Linked DNA regions of Homo sapiens: region 2 is linked to region 1. The links are contacts of gene promoters, found by promoter capture Hi-C in blood cells and fetal thymus (Javierre and others, 2016). All regions are on one chromosome and are shown on one strand. Each heading gives the region's core, a stretch centred on a gene start or on the middle of the fragment in contact. The rest is flanking DNA. Distances are from core to core; before and after follow the strand shown.

Region 1 (6,077 bases), core at 2,682-5,181:
CACATCTTTAACTTCCAACTCATTCAGAGATTAAAATCTCTGTCTTCTATTTTTTTAAACAAAAGTAACATTCTGTTTTTTAAAGTAAAGATAGGCTGGGCGTGGTGGCTCATGCCTGTAATCCTGGCACTCTGGGATGCCGAGGCAGGCGGATCACTTGAGGTCAGGAGTTCAAGACTAGCCTGGCCAACGTGACGAAACCCCGTCTCTACTAAAAATAGGAAAACTAGCTGGGCGTGTTGGTGCACACCTGTAATCCCAGCTACTCAGGAGGCTGAGGCAGGAGGATTGCTTAAACCTGGGAGGCAGAGGTTGCAGTGAGCCGAGATTGTGCCACTGCACTCCAGCCTGGGCGACAGAGTGAGACTCCATCTCAAAAAAAATTAAAAAAAAAAAAAAAAGATAATACATGCTCAAACAATGTAAACAACATGGATACCAATTTTCTTATACACTTGTAGAAACACTATGTTAATAATCATTTTAATTTTGGCCAGTGTGTTTAATGGATGAAAATATTATACTTTAAAGTTGCATTTCTTTTATTAGTTATTTTTTCTCATCTTTTACAGCTTTGAGATTATATATATATATAAAACTTTTTTTTTGAGACGGAAACTTGCTCTGTCGCCAGGCTGGAATCCAGTGTCGAGATCTCGTCACACTGCAACCTCCGCCTCCCAGTCTCAAGTGATTCTCCTGCCTCAGCCTCCCAAGTAGCTGGGACTACAAGTGCACACCACCACGCCCAGCTAATTTTTGTATTTTTAGTAGAGACAGGGTTTCACCATGTTGGTCAGGATGTTCTCGATCTCAGGACCTCATGATCCGCTTGCCTCGGCCTCCCAAATTGCTGGGATTACGGGCATGAGTCACCGTGCCCGGCCGATATATATTTCATATACCATAAAACTCACTATTTTATTTTATTTTATTTTATTTTTTTGAGGCGGAGTCTGGCTCTTGTCACCCAGGCTGGAGTGCAATGGTGCAATCTCTACTCACTGCAACCTCTGCCTTCCGTGTTCAAGTGATTCTCCTGCCTCAGTCTCCCAAGTAGCTGGTATTACAGGCACCTGACACTACGCCCAGCTAATTTTTGTATTCTTAGTAGAGATGAGGTTTCACCATGTTGGCCAGGCTGGTCTTGAACTCCTGACCTCCAGTCATCAGCCTGCTTCAGCCTCCCAAAGTTTTGGGATTACAGGCATGAGCCACCATACACGGCCTAAAATTCACTAATTTACCAGCCTGGGCAACACAGGGTGAACTCATCTCAAAACAAAAACAAAAACAAAAAAATTAGCTAAGTGTGTTGGTGCATGGCTGAAGTTCCAACTTCTTAGGAGGCCAAGGTGAGAGGATCGCTTGGGCCCTGGAGTTCAAGCCTACAAGTGAGCCATGGTTACACCACTGCACTCTAACCTGGGAGACCCTGTCTCGAAAAACAAAAGTAAAATACAAATTCACCATTTAAATCATAAAGTGTCTACTTTGGTGGTTTATGGTATACTCACAGTTTTGCAACCGTCATCGCACTCTAATTTTAAAAGGTTTTCAACACTCCAAAAGGAGACCCCATACCCATTAGCAGTACCTTCCCATTTCTGCTCTTTCATCCCTCAACCCCAGGCTACTTTTATGTTTCTTGGCTGTATGTGATTTTGTTATGTTTGTTTATTTTGGATTTATTTTATTTTGGATTTATTTCTTTCCTTTTGACATGGAATCTCATTCTGTTTCCCAGGCAGTGCTTCATCTCAGCTCACTGCAACCTCCACCTCCTGGGTTCAAGCGATTCTCTTGCCTCGGCCTCCAGAGTAACTGGGATTACAGGCGCCCATAACCACGCTCGGCTAATTTTTGTAGTTTTAGTAGAGATGGGGTTTCACCATGTTGGCCAGGCTGGTCTCGAACTCCTGACCTCAAGTGATCTGCCTGCCTCGGCCTCCCAAAGTGTTCAGATTGCAGGCATGAGCCGCTGCGCCCAGCCCATTTCGGATTTTTAGAAATTGATTACAGATTTTATTTATTTATTTATTTGATACAGGGCCTCTTTCTGTCTCCTAGGCTGGAATGTAGTGGCCCAATCATAGCTCATTGCAGCTCAATTCCTGGGCTCAAGGGAATTCTCCTGCTTTAGCTCCCAAGTAGCTAGGACTACAGATGTGTGCCACCATGCCCAGATAATTTTTAACTTTTTGTAGAGACGAGGCCTCACTATGTTGCCCAGCCTGGTCTCAAACTGCTGGCCTCAACCAATTCTACCACCTCTGCCTCCCAAAGTGCTGGGATTACAGGTGTGAGCCACCCCACCAGGACCCTGATGGGAGAAATTTTGCATTTATCATGATGATCAACCATTTCCTTATCATGTGTATTGCAAATATATATATATGTATATATACGTATATATATGTTTATATATGTATATATGTGTATATATGTATATATGTATATATGTGTATATATGTATATATGTGTATATATATGTATATATGTATATATACATATATGTGTATATATATATATTTTTTTTCTTGAGACGGAGTCTTGCTCTGTCATCAGGCTGGAGTGCAGTGGCACAATATTGGCTCACTGCAACCTCTGCCTCCTGGGTTCAAGTGATTCTCCTGCCTCAGCCTCCCCAGTAGCTGGGACCACAGGCGCCCGCCACCACTCCCGGCTAATTTTTTTGTATTTTTAGTAGAGACGGGGTTTCACCATGTTGGCCAGGATGGTCTTGATCTCTTGACCTCATGATCCACCCGCCTCGGCCTCCCAAAGTGCTGGGATTACAGGCATGAGCCATCGCGCCTGGCCGTGTACTGCAAATATTTTTTATCCATTTGTTCTACTTTGTTGATGGCATCTCTTCTCGTACAGATGTTTATATTTCTTTCAATATTTTCTTTTATGATCTTTTGACTTTGATTCATGAGTATAAACATTTTCCCTCCTCCAATTATAGAGCTTCTCCCCATATCTTCTTCTGGTCTTTTACAGTATTGCGATTTGTCTGTTTTCAATCTATTTTTTTTTTTTTTTTGAGACGGAGCCTCTCCGTGTCGCCCAGGCTCAAGTGCAGTGGCGCGATCTCTGCTCACTGCAAGCTCCGCCTCCCAGGTTCAGGCCATTCTCCTGCCTCAGCCTCCCGAGTAGCTGGGACTACAGGTGCCCGCCACCACGCCCGGCTAATTTTTTTGTATTTTTAGTAGAGACAGGGTTTCACCATGTTAGCCAGGATGGTCTCGATCTCCTGACCTCATGATCCGCCCGCCTCAGCCTCCCAAAGTCCAGGGATTACAGGCGTGAGCCACCGCGCCCGGCCTTCAATCTATTTTGAGTTTAGTTTGAGACAGTAAGACTAAAAGCACTTAACATACATTATTCCACTTAATCCTCCAGGCCATTCTGTTAAGTGGGGGTTATTTTCTTCTTCATTGTACAAATGTGGAAATGGAGGCAGGTCGATTTAAATAAGGCCGCAGAGCTAGAAAGCTGCAGAGAAGGGGTTTGAACCCTGCACCTCTGGGGCCAGGGCAGTGCGGGTGGCCGTCCGCGAACCCTGCTAGCTGTGGTGCTCGGGGGCAAGCTTCCGAGGGCGCGGCGGGCGCGAGGAGCGCGTCCGAGACTCGGTGGAGCGTCACCGGCGCAACCCCGCGTGCCCAGCTCCAGGCCGTGTTCTCCCAGGTGCGGGCCGGCGGGACCCCGCCTTCGGCCCTGGCGGCGCGCGCTCGCCTAGCGGGCGGGCACTCGCGCGCAGCGTTTGTGTTGCCTGCGAGTTTCCCGAGTTCACACAGGCCCTGGGTTGGCATGGCAACCAGGCAACCTGTTCCAGAGCCGCCAGCCTTCTCCGCACATGCCGCTGCCACCGCCGGGGCCGGGGCCGGAGCCTATCCCAGGATGCACCGCGCCAACCCAGTCCCCAGTGGGCCGCCATGTTGTCGGAGTGAAAGGTAAGGGGGAGCGAGAGCGCCAGAGAGAGAAGATCGGGGGGCTGAAATCCATCTTCATCCTACCGCTCCGCCCGTGAGTATCCGCACCCCACCGGCCCCAAACGCTGCTCCGGACCCCTAACGAGCAGATTGTCCCTTCATATTGGTGTTTGAGAGTGGTTGTGGGGGTGAGAAGGGCTTTGGAAAAGCCGCCGGGGCCCTGGCTGAGGCTTCTCACTCGCTGTTCCTCGTACATGTTTTGGAGTCAGCAGCAAGGCCCCTATTGTTATCAAAGGAGGGAGGGGGTGGGGAGCGGGGTCGAAGCTAGGAAAATGCTGGGGGTTTAGGCCCGAGCCCAGGGCGTAGACGTGCCTCTACATTTTTGCCTGGCCCTGTTGGGAACCACCGAAGATTGATGTTGCCATTCGGGTTGCTTTTTTTGATGGGTTTGCGAAGCCCCGAGTCTTCTGTGTGGCCATGAAGTGTAATTCTGTGCCACCCCGATTTCTTCGACTTCTTGAGCTTCCGTGGCAGCGCCGGAGGAGGAGGAACAATAAATCGCTTTAGAAGCAGCCGTGGCCCTTGTCCACAGGCGAGATTCACCGTGGGGGAACTTTGCGAGCCTTAAATGTGGAGAAGTGGCGATCAGGAAGTTTCAGAATGCTTTTTAGGCTCCTGGGTTGCTGTGGCCTTTTGTTTCCGTGTGAGCTTGTGTTTTTGGTGGGTTCTTCCTTTTTGAGCCTCCCGGTGTTGGTGTCTCTCTTCACTCAAAGAGGGGTTCACCCCTTGCTAGTAGGAAAATCTAGATACACAATACTAGTTTTAGTCCTCACAAACATGCTTGGTAAACATAGATCATTTGTTTTACTTGTCAGTACCATTCCCACGTCAAGTGAGGAATACACTCCTGTAACTTTTCCCTCCTATAGCCCCCCCCCCCCCCCCCGCTGAAAAAACAAAGCCAGAAACCCACACACAGCATTACCAGAGAAGGCTTTATTCTCCCGTAACTTAGATTGTTACCTTTTATTGTTCAATTAAGAAAACACTGTTCTCAGCCCTCGATACCATTTTGCTCAATTCCTGTTATTACTGGGATTAATTAAGAATAAGATTTTATGAAGCTTTTCCTGGGTTCTGTTTTAAAGTCAGTTAACTTCTGAAACAATAGGCTTAGCATTTTGTTTCTTGAAAGCACCTAAAAACTTACTAAGACAGGCCCAACCCCAAGAAATGTGGCTTCCGATGCAGTTTTCGTAAGCAAAATAAACATTTTGACCCTTTGCTAATTTTAACTTTATAAAACACTGGGGGGCTGTTGATTCTTTATCTGGGCTCTTGGGAAACGCTCTCCGGATTCTGAACTTTGAGTTAGTGTTTTGCTTTAGCGACAATTGAATTCATTTTGTTCAAGGCCACAGCTTTTTGAAGTTGGAATTTGTTTAGTTTAGGTTTAAAATGAACTGTTTTAAGATAAATTTATGACCACAGAATGTTTGTTAAGTGTGGTAAAAATAAACACCTTTTAAACCACTAAGCATTTTAGTAAAAGGTGAGCCATGGAAATAAAGTAAACCGTGTTCCTTTGAATTCAACTCAATTAGTGATATTTTAAAAAACTTTGTAAACATTTGAAAGCTGTGAAAGAGTAGCTGGACTGAGCACTTCTAGTTGCTTAAAGTACTTATAAGGTGTCATTTGTAAAAAAATCACATTTTAAATGCTACACGTATTAGTGAGCTTTTCTGATATTTAGGATACTGAGTTTTTAATTTTTGTGCCGTATTTGCCAAAATACCACAAAACTACCCAAGATAACATGTTAATTGCTTAGGTATTTGCTCACTTTGAAACTGTTCTGCCAGGTTTTCTCTGGTTTGAGAAACTGCCTTGCCTCTTTAGGTAAAGCAGGAAGTCTTAGGGCATACAGATAGCTTTACAAAAGCCAATTGTTTCGTTTGAACATTTTTATAGGAGTCTTTTCTTTCCCCCATTCCTTTTAGAATGAAGGTGTGTTTAGTGTGCGTCAGTGATAAACTCCTCTTTTATGTGGATATTCTTTGTTAGATAACTTTTTTCTTTTAAAAATTTTTATTTGTATAATTTGTGAGGTACAAGTGTAATTTGTACATGCGTGTA
Region 2 (6,077 bases), core at 1,990-4,489, 730 kb before region 1:
GGGTGCAGGGGTGGCAGCCAGGCTGGGGCTGAGCGTGCAGTTCAGCAGCAACAGGGATTTGTGGCCTGGGGAGAGGGTGGCAGAGCAGGGGTGCCCGTGCCCCAGGTCACCTAGAAAAGAACCTGGTTCAACCCTGGCTCTAAAGCCCTGGGCTGGCTTCAGCGCTGCTGCTGCCCCTGTTTCAGCTCCTGCCTCTGCTATTTGCAGACTGGGAGCCCTCGAATGAGCTGCTAGGCTCCTTCGAAGCCGCCAAGAGCTGCGGGGACAATATCTTCCAGAAAGCCCTAAGCCAAACTCCTATGCCTGCTCCAGAGATGCCCAAAACCAGGGAGTTGTCTCCCACGGAACCACAGGACAGGTGTGGGGTTGGGAGCAGGGAGGTGGATAACCCAGCAGGGTTGAGGGGGAGGCCACCACCTGGTGCAACAGACATAGCACTGGCTTTTCCTGTGTGGCCTTGGGCAAGTCTTCCCTCCCTTGGGAACCTCACTTTCCCCATCTGTGCAATGGAACTAATCATCCCAGCCTCCTGGCAGCCCCCTGCACAAGGCCAAGCTTGGGCCAGTGTTCCAGTCCCCACAGTAGGGACACAGGATCTGCTCTGAAAAGAAAGGAGGTGCCGGGGAAGTCCTCATGGCCTGCTCTGTCTGGCCCTGTCTTCTGTCCCTCCCTCTAGGGTCCCTCCATCTGGGCTCCATGTGCCTGCTGCACCCACAAAGGCCCTGCCCTGCCTGCCACCCTGGGAAGGTGTTCTGGACATGTTCTCCATCAAGCGGTTCCGGGCCAGGGCCCAGCTGGTCTCGGGACACAGCTGTCGGCTTGTCCAGGTGCACCTGCCCTCCTCGCCAGGGATTCCCTTACACACTGACCAGCCCAGGCAGCCTCTCTCTCTCTCTCTCTTTCACTCATGCATTCTAAAACAATTCATGGGCACCCCTTTCTGTGCCTGGCCCTGTGCAGGGCATGGGGGCAAATGAGATGTTGGTCCCATTCCTACAGAGACAAACAGGGTGAAGGACTCCCTGTCACCCATAGCAAGAAGGGCCCAAAGGAGGGTTTTAGGAGTGATCGTTGAGTGACTTAATGATCAGCTAAAGTGTCGGATGAGAGCAGAGGATAGAGGAGGGAGGGAGGGGCTTTGGAGAAGTTGTAGATTAGCCAGTACAGGCTGCAGACCTCCATGGGGCAATTAGAGCTTTCTGGGCAGCCACTGAGGGTCCTGGAACACTGCCTGCCCATATTTGCCACAGGCTGCAGCCTTCCAGGTGGCTGGGAATGCGTCCACCCTGAGTGGGTGGGAAGCTGGGGAGCTGACTGGCCATCCTTCCTGCCCCTAGGCTCTGCCCACCGTGATCCGCTCGGCAGGCTGCATCCCCTCCAACATTGTCTGGGACCTTCTGGCCAGCATCTGCCCAGCCAAGGCCAAGGTACCTGCCCACTCTTGGGCACCCCCTCTTTTCCTAGTACCTTACTCCCACCTCCCTCTCCACTTCTAGAGCAGAGGCCTGGCTTGGATATCTGGGTCTAGTTCCCAGAGTGACTGCAGACTCACTGTGTGACCCTGGACAGGTCCCTCTGTTTCCTCCTCTGGAAGATGGAGACATACTTTCTCACGGGGTTCTCAGGGGTTTCAGGGAGCCCAGGGGTGTTGGCAGGAGCAGAGGATGACTGCGCTTACAGCTGCTCTCCTCCTGCCACCGCAGGACGTCTGCGTGGTCAGACTGTGCCCACATGGGGCCCGGGACACCCAGAACTGCCGCCTGCTCTACTCATACCTCAATGATAGGCAGCGCCACGGGCTGGCCTCTGTGGAGCACATGGGGATGGTCCTGCTGCCCCTGCCTGCCTTCCAGCCCCTGCCCACCAGGCTGCGCCCTTTGGGGGGCCCAGGTGAGTGCCTAGTCCCCATACCAGACCCTGCCTCTGCTCACTTGGTGACCAGACCAGGCACGGTTGACACAGTCACCCAGTAGAGGCAGGCACATCTCAGAAGGGAACTCCTCACCCAGCCAGGCAAATGTGAGTACAATGACAGTAATAGCTCACGCTTGGATATCATGAACTGCATGCCAGCCATTGTTCTAAAAGCTTTACCTAGATGAATTCTTGTAGTCTCATCACCCTATGAGAATGGTACTATTAGACTAGACTGTCCATCTCATAGAAGAAGAATCTGAGGGAGGAAGAAGGCAAATGACTTGTCCAAAGTCACACAGTCAGTCAACAGCAGAACTGGGCTTCACTCTGTTCACACGTTGTGTGAAGCACAACATGGCTTCAGAAACCTGGCCCCTAACCACCACACCACACTGCCTCTCAAGGTAGGCACCCCTGAAGAGAAACTCCAGGGACAGCCACATTTGACCCAGGCAGCAGGACAGAGTCAGGACCTACACACACTTGACTGTAAATGTCACCTCAGAGAGGAGGGAGGGATGTTTCGCCACAGCCACGGGGGGCCGAGCTCGGCCTCTGTGCATGGACACCCTCCACGGCGTGGCTCAGGAAAGCAGCGAGGTTGGCAGTGGGCGCTTTGCCCACTCCTGAGCAAAGCGCTTGGCCTTTTGGGGCTCCATGTCCTGAGACAATGAGGTAGACTTTGAGTCTGTAGAGTCTTCAGGTCAAACAATCCATACCCCAGCCTCAGCCAGATAAGCCTTGATCCCGCAGAGCTCAAATCTTCCGAGACAGCCCCACCTTCCTACTTACTTTTCCCAGCATCTCATGGGCCCCATCTCACTGTGAAGAAGCCCTTCCTGGGATGTAGGCTCCAGATCTGCTGCAGCTAAGCTGAACACAGTTCTTCCCCGCAGGCCTTTGGGCTCTTCCTGTCTCCCCTCTCCTTTCCCCAGGTCTGGAGGTCACTCACTCAAGTCTGTTGCTGGCTGTGCTGCTCCCCAAGGAAGGGCTTCCAGACACAGCAGGGTCCAGCCCCTGGTTGGGGAAGGTTCAAAAGATGGTCTCCTTCAACAGTAAGGTGGAGAAGAGATACTATCAGCCAGATGACAGGAGGCCGAATGTGCCCCTGAAGGGCACCCCTCCCCCAGGAGGTGCCTGGCAGCAGAGCCAGGGCAGGGGCAGTATAGCTCCAAGGGGAATCTCTGCTTGGCAGAGGCCCCCCAGAGGCAGGGGGAGGCTCTGGCCAGAGCCTGAAAACTGGCAGCATCCTGGGCGAGGGCAGTGGCCCCCAGAGCCAGGCTTGCGCCAGTCCCAGCATCCCTATTCAGTAGCACCAGCTGGTCATGGCTTTGGCCGTGGCCAGCACTTCCACAGGGACTCCTGTCCCCACCAAGCCCTGCTCCGGCACCTCGAATCCCTGGCGACCATGAGTCACCAGCTCCAAGCCTTACTGTGCCCCCAGACCAAGAGCTCCATCCCCCGCCCTCTGCAGCGTTTGTCTAGCGCCCTTGCAGCTCCAGAGCCCCCTGGCCCAGCCCGTGACTCCTCTTTGGGGCCTACAGATGAAGCTGGCTCTGAGTGTCCCTTCCCTAGAAAGGCCTGACCCTCCTTACCCACCAGAACAGGGGTTTTGATGCCCTCACTAGTGTTGAAGCCTGTTCCAGAGAGAGGTGGGACTGCAAGGAGAGGATGGTCAGCCCTACCCACCTGCCCTGTTTGAACTTCCTGTTTGACAATGTTTGCTGTTGATTTTTTGTTCAATAAAGAATTTGGTAAAATTGGGATTGCATCTGCTAGCTGGTCAGGAGAGCCCCTGGTCCTGGTCAGATGTGGGTTGAGTGGGTGTGTCAGTGAGTGTCTTGTGCACAAATGTGCAGCCTTGCTCATTGCTGGTCTGAGGTCCTGAACCATCACTGCGCCCCAGGGCACAGCTATTGCCACGGTGGTTTCTGGAAGCATTTTGCAAGTATTCTGAACCAGGAGGAAGAGGTGGTGGTGGGAAAGAAAGTAGGACCGAGGTTGGGGGTGGAGAGAGAAATGGACAGAGCCTTTTGGAGGGTCACAGACATCAGACATCAAGAGATTGCTAGAGAGGAAAAGATAAGCAAGTTGCAGTGGACTTTAAATTTTTCAGTTAATACTAAGATTTTTTTTTCCTTTGACTAGATGGGGAAGGATAGTACATACCTTCACCATATTCCCTCCGAGTCTCTGTCTATGTGCTTCTCAGGGATCTCTGTGCACTAGTGTGCCTGCAAGCATGTGAGAGTATCTGTGTGAGTTTCATGGCCTGCCTGTGTGTAGGTCTCTGTTGAGGAAGTCAGGAGATCCAGATTGGGTGACTCCTCTCTGTATCTCTTGCCAGATTCCAGAGACTGGTGTTAGAAAATGTCAAAGGTCTTAGCCTTGGTGGTGGGCATTCAGGGTGGGGTTGGAGACTGGTATTAGGGTTGGACGGTGCTGCCTTGCCTTGGGCCTAGAACAAGCTTCTAACAGCAACTGCAACTGTCAAGCGTTTCATGTGGGGTGTACCTCGAGAGAGCTGCATCTGCGGACTGATGGGGGAACCAGCTGCCAGGGCCAACCAACCCAGCGTGGGGAAAGGGGCCTGGCTTCCAGGAGAGAACCTCTCTAGAACCCCACCCTTCGCCCCGGGGCCAGAAGGGCCCTACCCGCTCTTTGCTCACCCCTTCGCAAAGTCCACCCATGTACAGGCCTCACCCTGGCCCCTGCTGGACTGGAAGGGGTGGGGCGATGGTCGGTTGGGGGAGCCCTTCTTCTCTGCCCCATGAGCTCTGCGGCTGCCCTACCCGCGGACGACAGCAGAGGGGGCCCTCGGCCTTGGGATGGAGGTCGGGGCTGGCAGGACCGGAGTCAAAGCGGGGGGTGGGGCGAGGTGCGGGAACTTAGCGCAAGGAGTTGGAAGCGGGGGCGGGGTAGGATGCGGGTGGGGTGCGGGTGAGGGGTAGGGAGAGGGGGCTGGACAGTTGAACCGGGAGAGGGAGCGGGGCTCCTTCGGGAACTTTTCCGGCTCGAAATGGCCTGGGAGCGCCGCAGCCTCCGCGCTCTATGCAAATGACGCAAATTACTATGCAAACCTACAGCTTGGTTCTGAGCCCACAGTTTGGGTGGTTTTCCTAATGCAGTTGGTATGGAGGGAAACGGGTGTGCACTCCCTCCCCTCCAGGTCCAGGGCTTCCTCCGGAGAGCCGCCAGAGCCGCTCTCCTGGAACACGCAGGCAAGAGCGAGCTCTGTACCCTGGGCAGGGATTTCCTTTGGGAGCTTCAGTTTTCCCTTCTGTAAATGGGGGTGATAACGCGGCTCTGTAACAGCTCGCCCGTGGAAGGGCTGTAGGTGGGCCCCGAAATCCTGCAGCCTGCTAAACATGACACCCTCCCCCACCCCCGCCACCTTTTGGCCCCAGTCCACGAGCCCCTTGCCCCTCTCTCTCTCGGCAGAAGCCTGGAGCGAGGATTAGGCATGACGTTGCTAGGGGGCGTGACTGACGGTTGCTAGGCTCCAGGGACGTTGCTATGCAACGCTGGGCGGGGCTTGTTGTTGCTAGGCCGGAGCCGGAATCGCCCGGGACCCGGAAGGGACACCTCGCGCCCTGGGTTTTAGTGGAAGGCGCCCCAGGCTACCAGGGATCGCGACACTGCTCTCCCGGTGACTTTCTTCGGGCCTGAGCTTCCCCCGGCTGGACGCAGTTTCTGAGGGTCCTTCCGGTTCACACTCTGCCACTCCGTGATCCTCTTGGCTCCGGAGTGAAGAACCCTGCGTCTTTGTGCACGTGTCTGTGCGCCTGCCTGTGAGGGGGGTGGGGGTGCAGAGCGGGTATCGCTTTTGGATTTCCATAGCAACTGCTCCTGTGTCACCCCATTGCTCCCAAAGGTTTGAGCGGTTGCTTGTACAAATTTACATATATCTGCATGTCATTAACATAGAGGCGGGGCCGGAACTTGTTTGGGCAACTATCCCTGGACGGTTCTCTTTGCTTCTTCCTCATCCCGTCTGATAGGCATGTGGGCTGCGCATGCGTGAGTGTTTAGCCTGTCCATGTTCTCAGATGTGGGGTGGATGAGTGAGCTGTGACAGTGACCATCAGTTCCCTTTCCCCACGTCCCCTTATTGAACCCTTAGCATGAATCCATCCAGATATCCCTGACTGAAGACACCC

What was found. The method cuts DNA at HindIII sites, captures the fragments that hold promoters and counts their contacts. A CHiCAGO score of 5 or more calls a contact.
Region 2: a fragment that was not itself captured here is called in contact with the fragment with the promoter of PUM1 in region 1 in 1 of 17 cell types (neutrophils); the score reaches 6.7 in neutrophils.

What each region holds. Positions count from the first base shown.
Region 1 is chr1:31,063,571-31,069,647 of GRCh38, reverse strand. It overlaps PUM1 (pumilio RNA binding family member 1), which reads left to right and starts at 3,931. Exons shown (of 22, transcript NM_001020658.2): 1 at 3,931-4,032. RefSeq lists a silencer at 3,625-3,844 and enhancers at 3,173-4,087, 3,955-4,274. The HindIII fragment of the contact is 1,467 bases long and covers 3,598-5,064 here.
Region 2 is chr1:31,788,028-31,794,104 of GRCh38, reverse strand. SPOCD1 (SPOC domain containing 1) reads left to right here. Exons shown (of 16, transcript NM_144569.7): 12 at 208-358; 13 at 677-827; 14 at 1,338-1,427; 15 at 1,704-1,890; 16 at 2,814-3,683. The coding sequence ends at 3,502. Among named protein-coding and RNA genes, the nearest start is that of SPOCD1, 25 kb to the left of the region's middle. RefSeq lists silencers at 4,713-5,002, 5,333-5,382 and an enhancer at 5,168-5,943. The HindIII fragment of the contact is 2,297 bases long and covers 2,091-4,387 here.